Linked DNA regions of Homo sapiens: region 2 is linked to region 1. The links are contacts of gene promoters, found by promoter capture Hi-C in blood cells and fetal thymus (Javierre and others, 2016). All regions are on one chromosome and are shown on one strand. Each heading gives the region's core, a stretch centred on a gene start or on the middle of the fragment in contact. The rest is flanking DNA. Distances are from core to core; before and after follow the strand shown. Region 1 holds the start of OR8A1 (olfactory receptor family 8 subfamily A member 1). Region 2 has its middle 37 kb from the start of OR10G7.

Region 1 (6,436 bases), core at 1,486-3,985:
AATGGTATAATGAATGCCTTTGTACATGCCATCTTATAGGCCTGAAAGAGAATGATTTGGGACTATATATACCTTGGACCAGATTTGCTATGCCCTGTGGATACCTATACTTATTTTTCCTAAGTAATGTCTTACTGTTTTCCAGAATAGCTGTAGTATATGGGGGTTCCTAAATCCCTACCTCCTTACTAACACTTAGCACCATCCAGCTTTTAAAATTTGTGCTAATCTTATAAACGTAAAAAGATATATCACTGTTTTAATTTGCGCTTCTATGTTTAGTAATCGGTTTGAGCATCTCTTCACATGCTCTGTGGTACTTCAGGTTTTCTCTTTTGTAAATTGTTCTATATACCTTGCTCATTTTTTTTCTTGCTAAAGTTGATGTCTTTTTCTTGCTGGTTTGCTAGGGTTTATTATTATATATGCTAGTTAGGCATCTTTTCCCATCCTATTATAGTTGTTGCCCATAAAGAGAAAGAGGTTTGGGCAGATGATAAAAGGAAGGGATTTGAGAAATTATTTTCAGAAGAAATTATTTTCATCCAATTTGAAATTGGATGAGCATAATTATGGGAGGTTTAATAGGCTGTTCAAAGGGACGGCTAGACTAAAGTGAAGGAAGTAATGTGTGAGTGCCCAGAGTCTGGGCTCTGGAAGCCACTTGGACTGGGGTTTGAATCTCAGTGTTGTTACTCCTGCTCCAAGTTCCATATCTGTGAAATGAGAATAGAATAGTACCTACTTGTTGTGTAGTATAATTGAAATAGAATAGAAAGCACGTAGAAGAATTGCATGGATCAGAGTCAGCATCCAAAAACATGTTAGCTGCTGTTATCATTATTATTAGTGTTACTAAGAAAATTACATAAAGAGATCAGGAAATTCTTGGGCAGGGGTAAGTAGAGATACTTTGCCTCTCTTTGCCTCATTTGTTCCCAAGTACAAAAAGAAAAAAAATTGGCCAGGCGCAGTGCCTCACACCTGTAATTCCAGCACTTTGGGAGGCCAAGGCAGGTGGCTCACTTGAGGTCAGGAGTTCAAGACCAGCCTGGCAAACATGGTGAAACCCCGTCTCTACTAAAAATACAAAAATTAGCTGGGCATGGTGGCAGATGCCTATAATCCCAGCTACTCGGGAGGCTAAGGCAGGAGAATCACTTGAACCTGGGAGGCGGAGGTTGCAGTGAGCCGAGATCGTGCCACTGTACTCCAGCCTGGGCTGGAGTGAGACTCTGTCACCAAAAAGAAAAAAAAAAAGAAAAAAATTGGGCTGAGTAATATTTTCTATATAGAAGATAATAAGACCATGAATGACCCTAAAACTCAATGTTGAAAGTTTAGCATTTAAGTTAAATTACAATTAAGATAGGAAACATTTATTAAAGGGCTTGGGGTAGAGGGATGGATCTCAAGTGAAAGAAAACCTGAACCTGAAGTTGGCTGGCTTCAAAGAGAAGTGAAAAAAGAGGGAGGGAAGGAAGAGGAAAGAAGAGGAAGGAAGGAAGAGGAAGGAAGAGGAAAGGAAGAGGGAAGGAAGAGGAAAGAAGGAAAAATGCCCATTCACCCAGCCATGTGGAGAAGTGATTATTTTCCATCCACAGCTGGCCAGCATTCAGAAGCTGTCACTCTGGTATTTATAACAATTACCACTAAATTGAAAAGGAACAATAACATTTGCATCAAAACAGTTTACCCCTCAGCGTTTTCTGCACGGCAGCCTTTACTTCCTTGTTCCTCAGGCTGTAGATTAGGGGATTCAACATGGGGATTACCGTGGTGTAGAACACAGAGGCCACATTCTCCTGGGTCAAGGAACTGATTGTGGAGGGTTTTAAGTACATGAATGCAGTTGATCCATAGAACATTCCCACGGCTGCAAGGTGGGAGCTGCAGGTGCTGAAGGCTTTGGATCTCCCCTCTGTGGTGCTGATGCCGAGGATGCTGGAGAGAATGAAGGTGTAAGAAACAAGAACTGTTAAGCTCGTGACTATGATGTTGAATCCAGCCGAAAAGAAGACTGTCATCTCAACATCATAGGTGCTAGAGCAGGACAGCTTCATGAGAGGGAGGATGTCACAGAAGTAGTGACTGATGAGGTGCTCACAATAGGGCAGTTTTAACATGAGGCCAGTTTCTATTGTGGAGCCAATGAGTCCGATGGCGTAGACCACAGCCACCAGCAGCAGGCAGGTGTGATGAGACATAATGATGTTGTAAAGCAAAGGGTGGCAGATGGCAACATAGCGGTCGTAGGCCATCACTGTCAGCATGTAACACTCAGCAATGACAAAAACAAGGAAGAAGTAGAGCTGTGACATGCACCCTGCGTAGGAGATGATGTTTTTCTCTGACACAAAGTTCACCAGCATCTTAGGGGTAATGACGGAGGAGTAGCAGAGATCCATGAGTGACAGATTGCTGAGAAAGTAGTACATGGGGGTGTGCAGCTGAGAGTTCAGACAAATTAGAGTGATCATGCCCAGGTTCCCCACGATGGTGACCAAGTAGATCCCGAGGAAGAGGAGAAAGAGGGGGAGCTGGAGGTCTGCTCTCTTCGTTAAACCCTTGAGAATGAACTCTGTCACTGTAGAGTGATTTCCTGCAGCCATTCTCCTCTGGGTGGGAGGCCTGCAGGGATGCATGGGAGACAAGAACCCCATTAAAAGGCTAATCTTGGACGGCTAGTCTTGAGCCTTTGGTGCTAGTGAAACATCCTGGGCTCTCTGCTGATGCATCCTCCCCGCCCTCCTCCCCTCGTCCTGCTATTTGCTGGTCTTCTTTGCAGGAAGACCAGCGTGAGTGTTTCAGGGATCATGAAGATGGGAGGAAAGCAGGCCAAGGTCTGGATCTTTTACCATGCACATTTTTCTAAAGCATCCTGGGGCAGTGTTTCTCAAAGGGTAGTCCCTGGACCAGCAGCACTGACATTACCTGGAGTTTTTTAGAGATGCAAATTCTCAGGCCTCAGCTCACACCTAATTAATCAGAAACTCTGGATATGGGGCCCAGCAATCTATGTATTAACAATCTTTCTGGTGATGGTGTTGCATAGTAAAGTTTGAGAATCTCTACATTGTAGATAAGTAGTATATTTCATATTTTGTAGTTGGGGATGGATTTTGCTTTAGAAATAAACTTCCTTTGTCATGTATATAATTCCTAAATATTCACTGAATGTGAACATGTAAATACCTATCTGAAATTTACGCAGTGTCAGGGTGATAGGGTAGTTACAAGCTGTGTCATTGGCTGACACATCAATTTCTATGTCTGAAAGATGAAGAAATTAATATTGATTCCAAAGGTGGTTGTAAAAATAACACAGGATAATGCATATTTAGAAATCTTTTTTCAAATACTCAGTGCCTATAAAAAATGTGAATTGTCATTAAGAGTCTGGAATTTGTTCTTAATTTCTTACTTGACCTGAGGTCCTAAGGCAGTGGTTCTCAGCATTGGCTATACATTATAATCACACGGGGCATTTACAAAGGATTGATACCTGGGTTCTACCCGTAGATGTTCTGATTTAATTGATCTGTGGTGCAACATGAGCACTGGCCCATTGAATGTTCCATACTAAGTGCTAAATAGCTAATTATTATTATTATTATTTTCAGATCATAATATCAAACCTTTGTCCTATTACATCCCTGATGACAAAGTATTCAAATTACAGGCATATCTCCAGGAAGCATGAATAATCATTGCTGGATACAATATGTATAGACAGTCTTATCTGTGGGATGTATTTCTTAAGCTATAAAACATATTACCCCTATTTTAATTGCTTCCTTATGTAATTACTAACTTTTGCATAATGCTTTACAGCTTACACATTTCTTTCAAAGGTCGATCTCATTAACTTCTGAAGTTTTCGGAAATGGGGAGAAATGTGTTTAGGGAAGGATTTTTATTTTCATGTTTGTATTGAGAAAACTGAGGTGCCAGACACTAAGTGATTTGCCCAAGGTTTACTAATTATTGGTGACTTGGAACTCAAACTTACCTCGGCTCTGTCCTGATCATGAGTTTCCTCTTTTGCCTCACATGTGCAGCCTTGTAAATCTGCACACTCACAGCTCTTAGCAATGTATGATTAAAATAGGTTTAAGCTTGATATCTTAGTATATGCATAGCATAGGAAAAATGCTGTATTTTGTTTCGTTGTCTAGGAAATTGAAGCTCTAAAAGTTAAATAAGTCACCCAAGGAAACCCAGCTAGTAAGAGGCAAAACTGGGCCTAAAACCCAGGACTTCTGACCACCAGTGTGTTTTGTCTCCACTAAACTAAATTGTTTTGTTTTAGCGTATCTTTGTGTAGCACTTTATTATTATTTAATAACATTTAATTTATATAATTTTTGAAGATAGAGGAAAGATCTATTGCTAATTTTGGATGCATTTAAAAAAATTATAAAGGCAATATATAGGCATTGTAGTGAATTAGAAATGCAAATAAGCAAAAATTTAAAACAACCATTTTCCACCACTTGGAACCAAACGGTGGTAGTGAATATCCTTCTAGACTTTTCCTATGCATATATGTATTTACATGTATATAAATATATATGTATTTTTACAAAAACATTTGTAATCTGCTTTTTAAACATAGCATTCACAAATGTATTGTCTCATTTGATTCCTATAACTGGCACTAACTGTATTCTTTTTTCTTAGAAGTAAGAGTCTTTAAAATCATTAGGACGTGGTGTGAAGACAAAGTCTGAATTGCATTGTAAGCTTTTATATCAAATTATTGGTAATGAGGCATTTAACTTTACAATAACTAGTATGAGAGGTAGCTAAGATTTTTAAAATTCACGTTAAGCATTCCCAATCTGAAAACTCAAAGTCCAAAATCTGAAACTTGTTGAGGGCCAACATGAACCACAAGTGGAAAATTCCACACCTCCTCTCATGTGACTAGTCTCAGTGAAAATACAGTCAAAACTGTTTCATGCACAAAATTATTAAAAATATGGTATAAAATTACCTTCAGCCTATGTGTATAAGATGTATATGAAGCATATATAAATTTCATGTTTAGACTTGGATCTCATCCTCAAGATATCTCATTATGTATATACAAACATTCTAAAACCGGAAAAAAATTCGAAATTCAAGACATTTCTAGTCCCAAGCATTGTGCATAAGGAGTTATTCCCATTTATTACAATGGAAATAGAAATGTATTATTTTCATTTATCACAAAGAAGAATTTTTTTCTAAATAACAACAGTAGATTTAAAAAGTTTTACATATCCTTTTTTACCCAATGTCTGCCTCTTAAAATGAAAGGAAACACCCAACTTGAATAACTATAACTGTAGATCGTGTGCTTTACAAAGCAGTGTGGAATGAACACTGTTCACTGAGTGCACAGCAGGTGGGAACACCATTGTGTAGGAGAACGCTAGACAGCACTGATTTAACGTTTCACTCTCATAGTCTTCTAATAACATGAAAGAGGCAAATATAAACCACGTATTTCTTTTACTTTCCTGTTTTTCCTCTTTTTTAAAGACAGAGTCTCATTCTGTTGCTTAGGTTTGAATGCAGTGGTACGATCATGGCTCACTGTAACCTTGAACTCCCAAGCTCAAGCAAGCATCTCACCTCAGCCTCATGAGTAGCTGGGACTACAGGTGTATGCTACCATGCTGGGCTACTTTTTAAAATTTTGGCTACAGATGGGATCTCTCTGTGTTGCCCAGGCTGGTCTCCAACTCCTGGCCTCAAGCAATTCTCCTCTCTTGGTCCTCTAAAGCTCTAAGACTACAGGTGTGAGCCACTGTGCCTGGCCAAACCATATATTTTATATTAGTTACTACAATTATTACCTTTAGTTTCACTAAGCCATAAGAGCCTTAGGATAACTGCCAATGAGAACACAGCACACAGATTAAAAAAGCACATAGTGGTGAAAGTAAATATATGGTTGTAAATAGTCTGCATCACAAACAAGAGTTCATGGAAGAAATATTTTTCTCAGGCAATTGCTTTAAGTTTGTAATTAAATACCTGTGATGAGGAAAAATAAAGCACAGTCTGCTGGAAACTTTAAGGGCTGCCTTGGTTTCAACAATCAGAAAATGCAGGAACCATACTGATTTATACTGAGTCCTACATTTACTCAAATTCATTAAAAAATGGATCACTAAGACTGGGGGCTTGGGATTGTGTTTACGAATATGTGGGCACAATATTTCCTGGGCTATAATCACTTGAGAGGCTGGGGTTCTCACTAACAGAGCAATTAGAGCCTTGCTTTACACTGGCTCTGAGAAACATGCTTTGTCTCCCAGGTGTGTTAATTTTCCTGTTATTGGTAGAGTGATCTTGCAGCTAGGGAAACTTACAGTCTAATGCCAGCTTTGGAATATTTTACTATCAACAGTCCCATTACTATTGTCACAATCGTCATGATTAT
Region 2 (6,436 bases), core at 2,256-4,755, 490 kb after region 1:
TATTGTGAAGGATGAAGAAAAATAAACATGAGGGGGAAGTGCGGTCCGTTTCACTGAAGGGAGAGGCCTCATCAGCTGGACTGTCAAACTCATCTACGGACCCAGAGATGTCCAAATGGATCACACTACCTAGATGAAGAACCTGCTCAACTGATCATAAATGAGGCATATTTTAAAGGTTGCCAAGTTCTGTGCAATGTTCTGAGGATACTGAGAGCAACAGAACCTGGTTGTTGAGATTCCTTACCATATGATGTAACTCATGTGATGGGCTGCAGTGAAACAGAGCAGGTCACACGCCCAGGAAGGATCCACATGATTCATATGCAATGCCAGCTTCCTTGTGCTGAAGAATCCTCACATATTTGACTCACCTTTCACAAACAAGCATGGGCCACACAGTGGTGGGGTCTGGAAGCCATGCCTGGGATATTTGATGAATTCTCACTAGAAGTACATATGCTGTGCAGTTGTGCTTCTCATCTGCATCAGTGTCTTAAACCCCATCAGCGCCGTATTGGATTGGGAGTGTCCTGTGAGTTCGTTTATCAGGCTGTGATAACCTCAGAGCTCCACTGGTGGCAGCTCACCCGCATTCTCTCCTCGGTAGCCTCTCCAGGGGTGCCAGGTGTTGAAACGATCAGAGAGCCAGACAGAGCTCAGCAGCACCAAGGACACACAGTACTGAAGGGACACCTTCCAGGGAGGTAAATGAGAAAAGACATTAGATAAAGCCTTTCCCATTATGTCCCTGGAGAAGATGACCCAACAACAGGGAGGGAAGGCTAAAGCTTAGGTTACACTGTGGCCTTAGGAACGCAGAGTTACATGGGGAAAGAACTTCAGGATTAGATTTCCCATGCCATCGATTCTCTCTTTCTCTTCCTAGGACCCAATCAGAAGACTCAGTAGAGTTTCTCAGTGGAACTAGATTGCATCTACCTAGGGAAGGGTAAAATATAAGATCCTCTTAATGACAGTTATTGGGTCAACAGTAGCAAATCTCCAAAGAACTCCGAATTATTCTAGCAAAACCTACATAGGAATGAAATAACCAGAGAAATGGTCAGAAATGAAAATGTACCTAATCTTAAGTGGCATTAAGGGCATTAAAAGTCTTCAGTGATGATAGGTGATAATAAGATGGAAAGTGAGATATCTTGTCAAATACTGAATGTTGAATTGAGATGCGGGCCAGTTTCCTCTTATCTCCTTAAGACACACAACACATGATCTCACCGCTGCATGACAGAGCACAGCTGTTATATTTTCCAGTGCTCCGTTCCTGAAGACCCATGCTGGCCTCCAGCTCATTAATACTCTTGTGTCTACTCGTTCCTGACATTGTTTGCTATGCAACCATTTTAATTATTTACAGGGCCTATAGAATCAGTCTACTGTTTACTTTTATCCCAACTATCACTTTTCACTTTTTCTCACCTACGCTTTATTCTCTTTGGCAGAGAATATGAAAAAGACACATAATTCCCAGTGTAGTTATGTTCAAATGAGTCACACATGCCACCTCCTTTTAATTCCAAAGAGTTTACCACTTGTCATTGCAGAGTGTTAGAAAAATAAAAGTATCGAAGTCTTAGGAAATCATCATGAAAAAAATGGGGCTTTTGATTTTAGAAGAAAGAGTGTGTACTAAAACTTTGATCTCTTTTTCTAAACATAGAGAAATTACAGTGAAAATGGAATAAATACTAACTACAACTGAAAACAAGAAAAAAATGATTCTCTATTGTGATTTTTTTTTTTTTTGAGACTGAATCTGGCTCTGTCACCCAGGCTGGAGTGCAGTGGAACGATCTCTGCTCACTGAAACCTCCCCCTCCCGGGTTCAAGTGATTCTCCTGCCTAAGCCTCCCGAGTAGCTGGGACTACAGATGCCCGCCACCACGCCTGGGTAATTTTTTTATTTTTAGTGGAGTAGGGGTTTCACCATGTTGGCCAGGCTGCTCTTGAACTCCTGACCTCAGGTGATCCACCCACCTTGGCCTCCCAAAGTGCTGGGATTACAGGCGTGAGCCACTGCACCCGGCCTGTAATATCTTATATATAAAAAATATATAAGTTTTCATTCATGGTTCCTGGCTTATAACTCCCATAGCTCCAGCTGTGGTCTTTTGTTATAATGTTGGGGCAGTTAGGCCTCAGAAAACAGAATCTCTCTGGCCTTTTCCTGCTCTCTTCTCACCAGCCCAAGCGGGACTCTGATCTTCCCCTGCCTTTCTGATCTGGGGTCATAAAACTGTCATTCCAGAGAGGGTCTGGTCCTGTACCCAGGAGGATGGAACGCTGCACAGAGAGGCCAAAAGGAATCTGAACAGGCAGGCCTTGCTAGGTTTCCCCACTCAGTCTATTAGTGTTAGATCATACCCTTGTGTTCCAATCATATTTCTACATGGTTGCCCATGCTTTGATCTTGCCTAACCAATGAAGCTCTATAAAAGGCCCCAGAAAACAGGGTTCAGAGAGCTTCTGGATAGCTGAGCACATGGAGGTTCCTGGAAGGTACTGTACCTGGGAAGGGCAGGGAAGATCCTCACCCCTTCCCTGATATCTCACCCTCCACATCTCTTCATCTGTATCCCTTGTAGAATCCTTTAAAATAAACTGGTAAGTATAAAAAGTGTTTTCCTGAGTTCTATGAGCCACTAGCAAAATAATCGAGCCCAAAAAGGGGGGTTGCAGGAACCCCAACCCTACGCCAGCATTTCCAGAGGCCCTGACTTGTGACTGGAGCCTAACTGGGGCGGGGGGTGGGGGGGTTTGGGAGGGCAGTCTTTCTTGGGGACTGAGCCCTCAACCTGTGGGATCTGATGCTACCTCTAGGCTGACAGTGTCAGAATTGAACTGGAGGACACCCAACTAGTGTCTGCAGCAGAATTGATTGGTCACTTGGTGTGTGGGGAACCCTCTCCCCACAACAGAAGTCCCCCATGTGGATTATTGCTATTGAGTGAGACAGTAGGAAATAGGCACATTGAGTGTTGTTTATGCCACTCTCAAACTATGAAAAAAACCCAGAAGATCCTGAATCAGGGCACCAACACCACCCATCTGAGACTGAAGACCAAAGCTGCTCCAGCAAGGATGGAGCCAGAAATCCACTAGCCAAGCAGGCTGTGAGGCCGGTGCCACACCTCACCAGGGTCAGGGGTTGTGCTAGAGAATAATCCAGGAGGGACTCGCAAATGAGAACTGTGCAGAAGTTATGATCAAAAGATGTATGGAAACTAACACTCTTAAAACACACACAACAAACTCTAAAATCAGAACAATTTACAGCTTAAGAGATAGAAATACTCTGGGAGGCCAAGGCAGGTGGATTGGCTGAGCCAGAAGTTTGAGACCAGACTGTGCAACATGGCAAAACCCCCATCTACAAAAAATACAAAAATTAGCTGTGTGGTGGAGATGCCTGTAGTCCCAGCCACTGGGGAGACTGAGGTGAGAGAATGACCCGATCCCAGGGAGGTTGAAGCTGCAGTGAGCTGTGCCACTGTGCAGCCTGGGCAACAGAGTGAGATCCTGTCTCAAAAAAAGAAGGAAAGAAGGAAAGAAGGAGAGAGAGAGAGAAAGGAAAAGAAAGAAAAGAAAAAGAGAAAGAGAAAAAGAAAGAAGGAAAGAAAGAAGGAGAGAAAGAAAGAGAGAAAAAGAAAGAAGATGGACTACCACATCTCAAAGAATTTAAAATATAAGTGTTAAGGAGACCATAAAAGGAAAAATATTATTTTGAAACAAAAATAGAAAATGCTGAAACAAGGCAAGCAAAAGTTATGACAAGATGCCCATAGAAATCTTATAAAATTAATACATTATAGCAAAAATTTTAACATGATAACTGAATATCAGACTAACGAAAATAAATTACTAAACCAGATTTAGTTCTGAGAATCACCCAGAAGTAACATACAAAGATTTTCTTTTAAATAAAGAAAATTAAAAATTGATAATTTGCAACAGTTTCTCTAGGTATCATATCCCGGTTTTATGAAATTCTAGAGGTAGGTGTGCTATTGTTTCTCCATCCTCCAATTCCTATTTTATATCACCCCTTGGAAATCTTTCTTTTTGTTCTCTAATTTTTATTTTTTGACGTATTTTGGGAGCTCATAGAGCTCCCCTCTCTTTCAACAAGCTCCATCTAGTAGGCCCAGTAGATTCCAATCACATTAGGTGAGAATTATCAGAAGATTTATTCAAGAGGATTATTTTTTTCTCTTCAAAACTGTCAGAGGTGTTGGAACCAGAGAGACTCCCTCTTGAACAGGGGCTGGGTAAAATGAGGAAGCTGCTGGGATGCCTTCCCAAGAGGCTAGGCATTCTAAGTCACAGGATGTTTATAGTGAAGGGAACAGGTTAACAAGGTTTACCAAACAGACCCAGGAAACAACAGACCCAGGAAATGTCCCGATGTCCCAATATATTAGGAACAAAAGCATTTTTAGTTTAAGAAGAAGTTTCCCTTTAAAGATAATAATAGAGATTTTTGTGGCAGACAGTAGTTACACGACGGTTAGTCCCTTGCCGTGATGGCCGCTTGCGGGTGGTCCGGAGCAGCCGCTGTCGTCACGCTGGCTGCAGCAAGGAGGCGTGGGTGGTGGCGGCACGAGCTGCTGCGGGAGCGGCAGTGGCGGTGGTGGGTCCCCTATGTCCTGTGTCCCCAAGGCGGCTGACTGTGCCACCCCTATCCTTCCGCAGCCGGCAGAACCCGCTCCCAGGCACGGAGCCTCCATTGCTCTGGACCCTGGTCCCATCGCCGCTCTCATCTGCAGCAACTGCTGGGAGGGTGCAGGGAGGAGGTGGAGCTGGGCCTGAGGCAGTGCCATCCTCCACGGAGCCGCTGGGAGCCAGGGACAAGGACAAGAAGGAGCACCCTCTCCCCAGGCCCCCAAAGCCCACCACCCTGAGGGCCACCGCAATGGGGCTGGGCCAAGCTACCCTCCAGCACAATCCGGCACTGAGGGGCAGGCAGAGCATCCGGACCCCCTACCCCAGGCTGTGAGGAGGCGTGGCCAGGGCTGTCTGCAAGCTCCAGGAGGCCAGGGGAGCCCCACCCTCCCAGGCACGGGACTCTGGCATTTCTGCTCTCTGTACCCTCGAGGACCCGGAAGGCCCTCCCGCGAAGGCTCAGGGTTGTCTGCTCCCACTGCCTAGCCGCTCGCCACTCCTGGCACCCACTCCAATCTCAGAGCAGGGTTGGGGCTGAATGAACCCTGGAGCTGTCACAGGCCGGCTGGGTGTAGCCGGGTGTGTGCACGCTGTGGGCAGCACTGATACACCAGCCCCCTGCTGCCTCGGCCCCCTCCAGACTTTGAGCATCCAGGAGCACAAAGGCTGGGTACGGGGGAAGCTGAGTGGTGGGGGGCTGAGGGCAGCTAGGTGCTGGCCTGCAGGTGCCCCTGGGGGCTAGCAGCCTGGGCGGCATGGACAGTGTCAGGAGGCAGACAGACTCCTGGGTGGAAGGGGTCAGGTCCCCCAGGGAGGGTCCGAAGGCTAGGGGCCAGGCTGCTGGTGGAGTGGGGTCTTGTGGTGCCTTTTCCAGACCTGCCCATGGCCACCCATGGACCAACTGGCACACACTTCCTCTCCTCTGAGGTCCATAAAAGCCCTGGGATCAGCTACAGCAGGGTAGATCAGAGGATGGAGAGGTGACAGGATGATCAGCAGCAGAGAGGAGTTACACTCTCTGCTGAGAGCTGCAGAGGCAATGGGATGACCTGCTGCAGAGAGGAGCCACCACTCTAGGGCCTCTTCTCTGCTTAGAGCTGCAGACAATGGGAGGACCCGCAGCAGAGAGGAGCTACCCTCAACACTTGTTGAGATGACCTCTAGCAGAGAGGAACTACCCGCTCCCTAGGAGCTGAACACTTGTCAGGACACTCCGGCTGCAGAAAGAAGCTCCCCACTGCAGGTCCCCTCTGAGCTGTTCTATAGCTCAATAAAGCTCTTCTTCCTCTTACTCACCCTCCACTTGTCTGCATAACTCACTTTTCCTAGTCACAGGACAAGAACTCGTGACCCAACGAATGGCAAAGCTAAAAGAGCTGTAACACAAACAGGGCTGAGACATGCCCCTTGCTTGCTCCCTACATTGCAGGTGAAGAGAAGGAAAGAAGAGCTGTGGCCCTTTGGGGATCCCAGACCTGGGAGCTCCCCCACAGGGCTGTGACTCCCTCTTTGGGGCCCTGCAATCTCCAAGCTTCCAGGCACCACCATGGTCCCCAGTGCCAGCTGTGGAAGCTGCTTGCAGTGCACCTGGTCTGGCCACAGCCTTGCAAAGAACCAGCACCCATGCCGGCACTTGGAGCTGCCCACCCCACTGCAGCAACCAGCCTGTCTGACTGTGTGCAGTGGCCAGACCTCACACTTGCTCACATACCCTTCACCGCTCCCACCTTACTCGCCCTTGGGAGACATGGGA

Evidence for each region. The method cuts DNA at HindIII sites, captures the fragments that hold promoters and counts their contacts. A CHiCAGO score of 5 or more calls a contact.
Region 2: a fragment that was not itself captured here is called in contact with the fragment with the promoter of OR8A1 in region 1 in 1 of 17 cell types (total B cells); the score reaches 5.3 in total B cells.

What each region holds. Positions count from the first base shown.
Region 1 is chr11:124,566,296-124,572,731 of GRCh38, reverse strand. OR8A1 (olfactory receptor family 8 subfamily A member 1) reads right to left here and starts at 2,735. Exons shown (of 1, transcript NM_001005194.2): 1 at 1,358-2,735. The coding sequence starts at 2,612. The coding sequence ends at 1,683. The HindIII fragment of the contact is 5,869 bases long and covers 1-4,120 here.
Region 2 is chr11:124,074,653-124,081,088 of GRCh38, reverse strand. No RefSeq gene overlaps it. Among named protein-coding and RNA genes, the nearest start is that of OR10G7, 37 kb to the right of the region's middle. The HindIII fragment of the contact is 5,423 bases long and covers 794-6,216 here.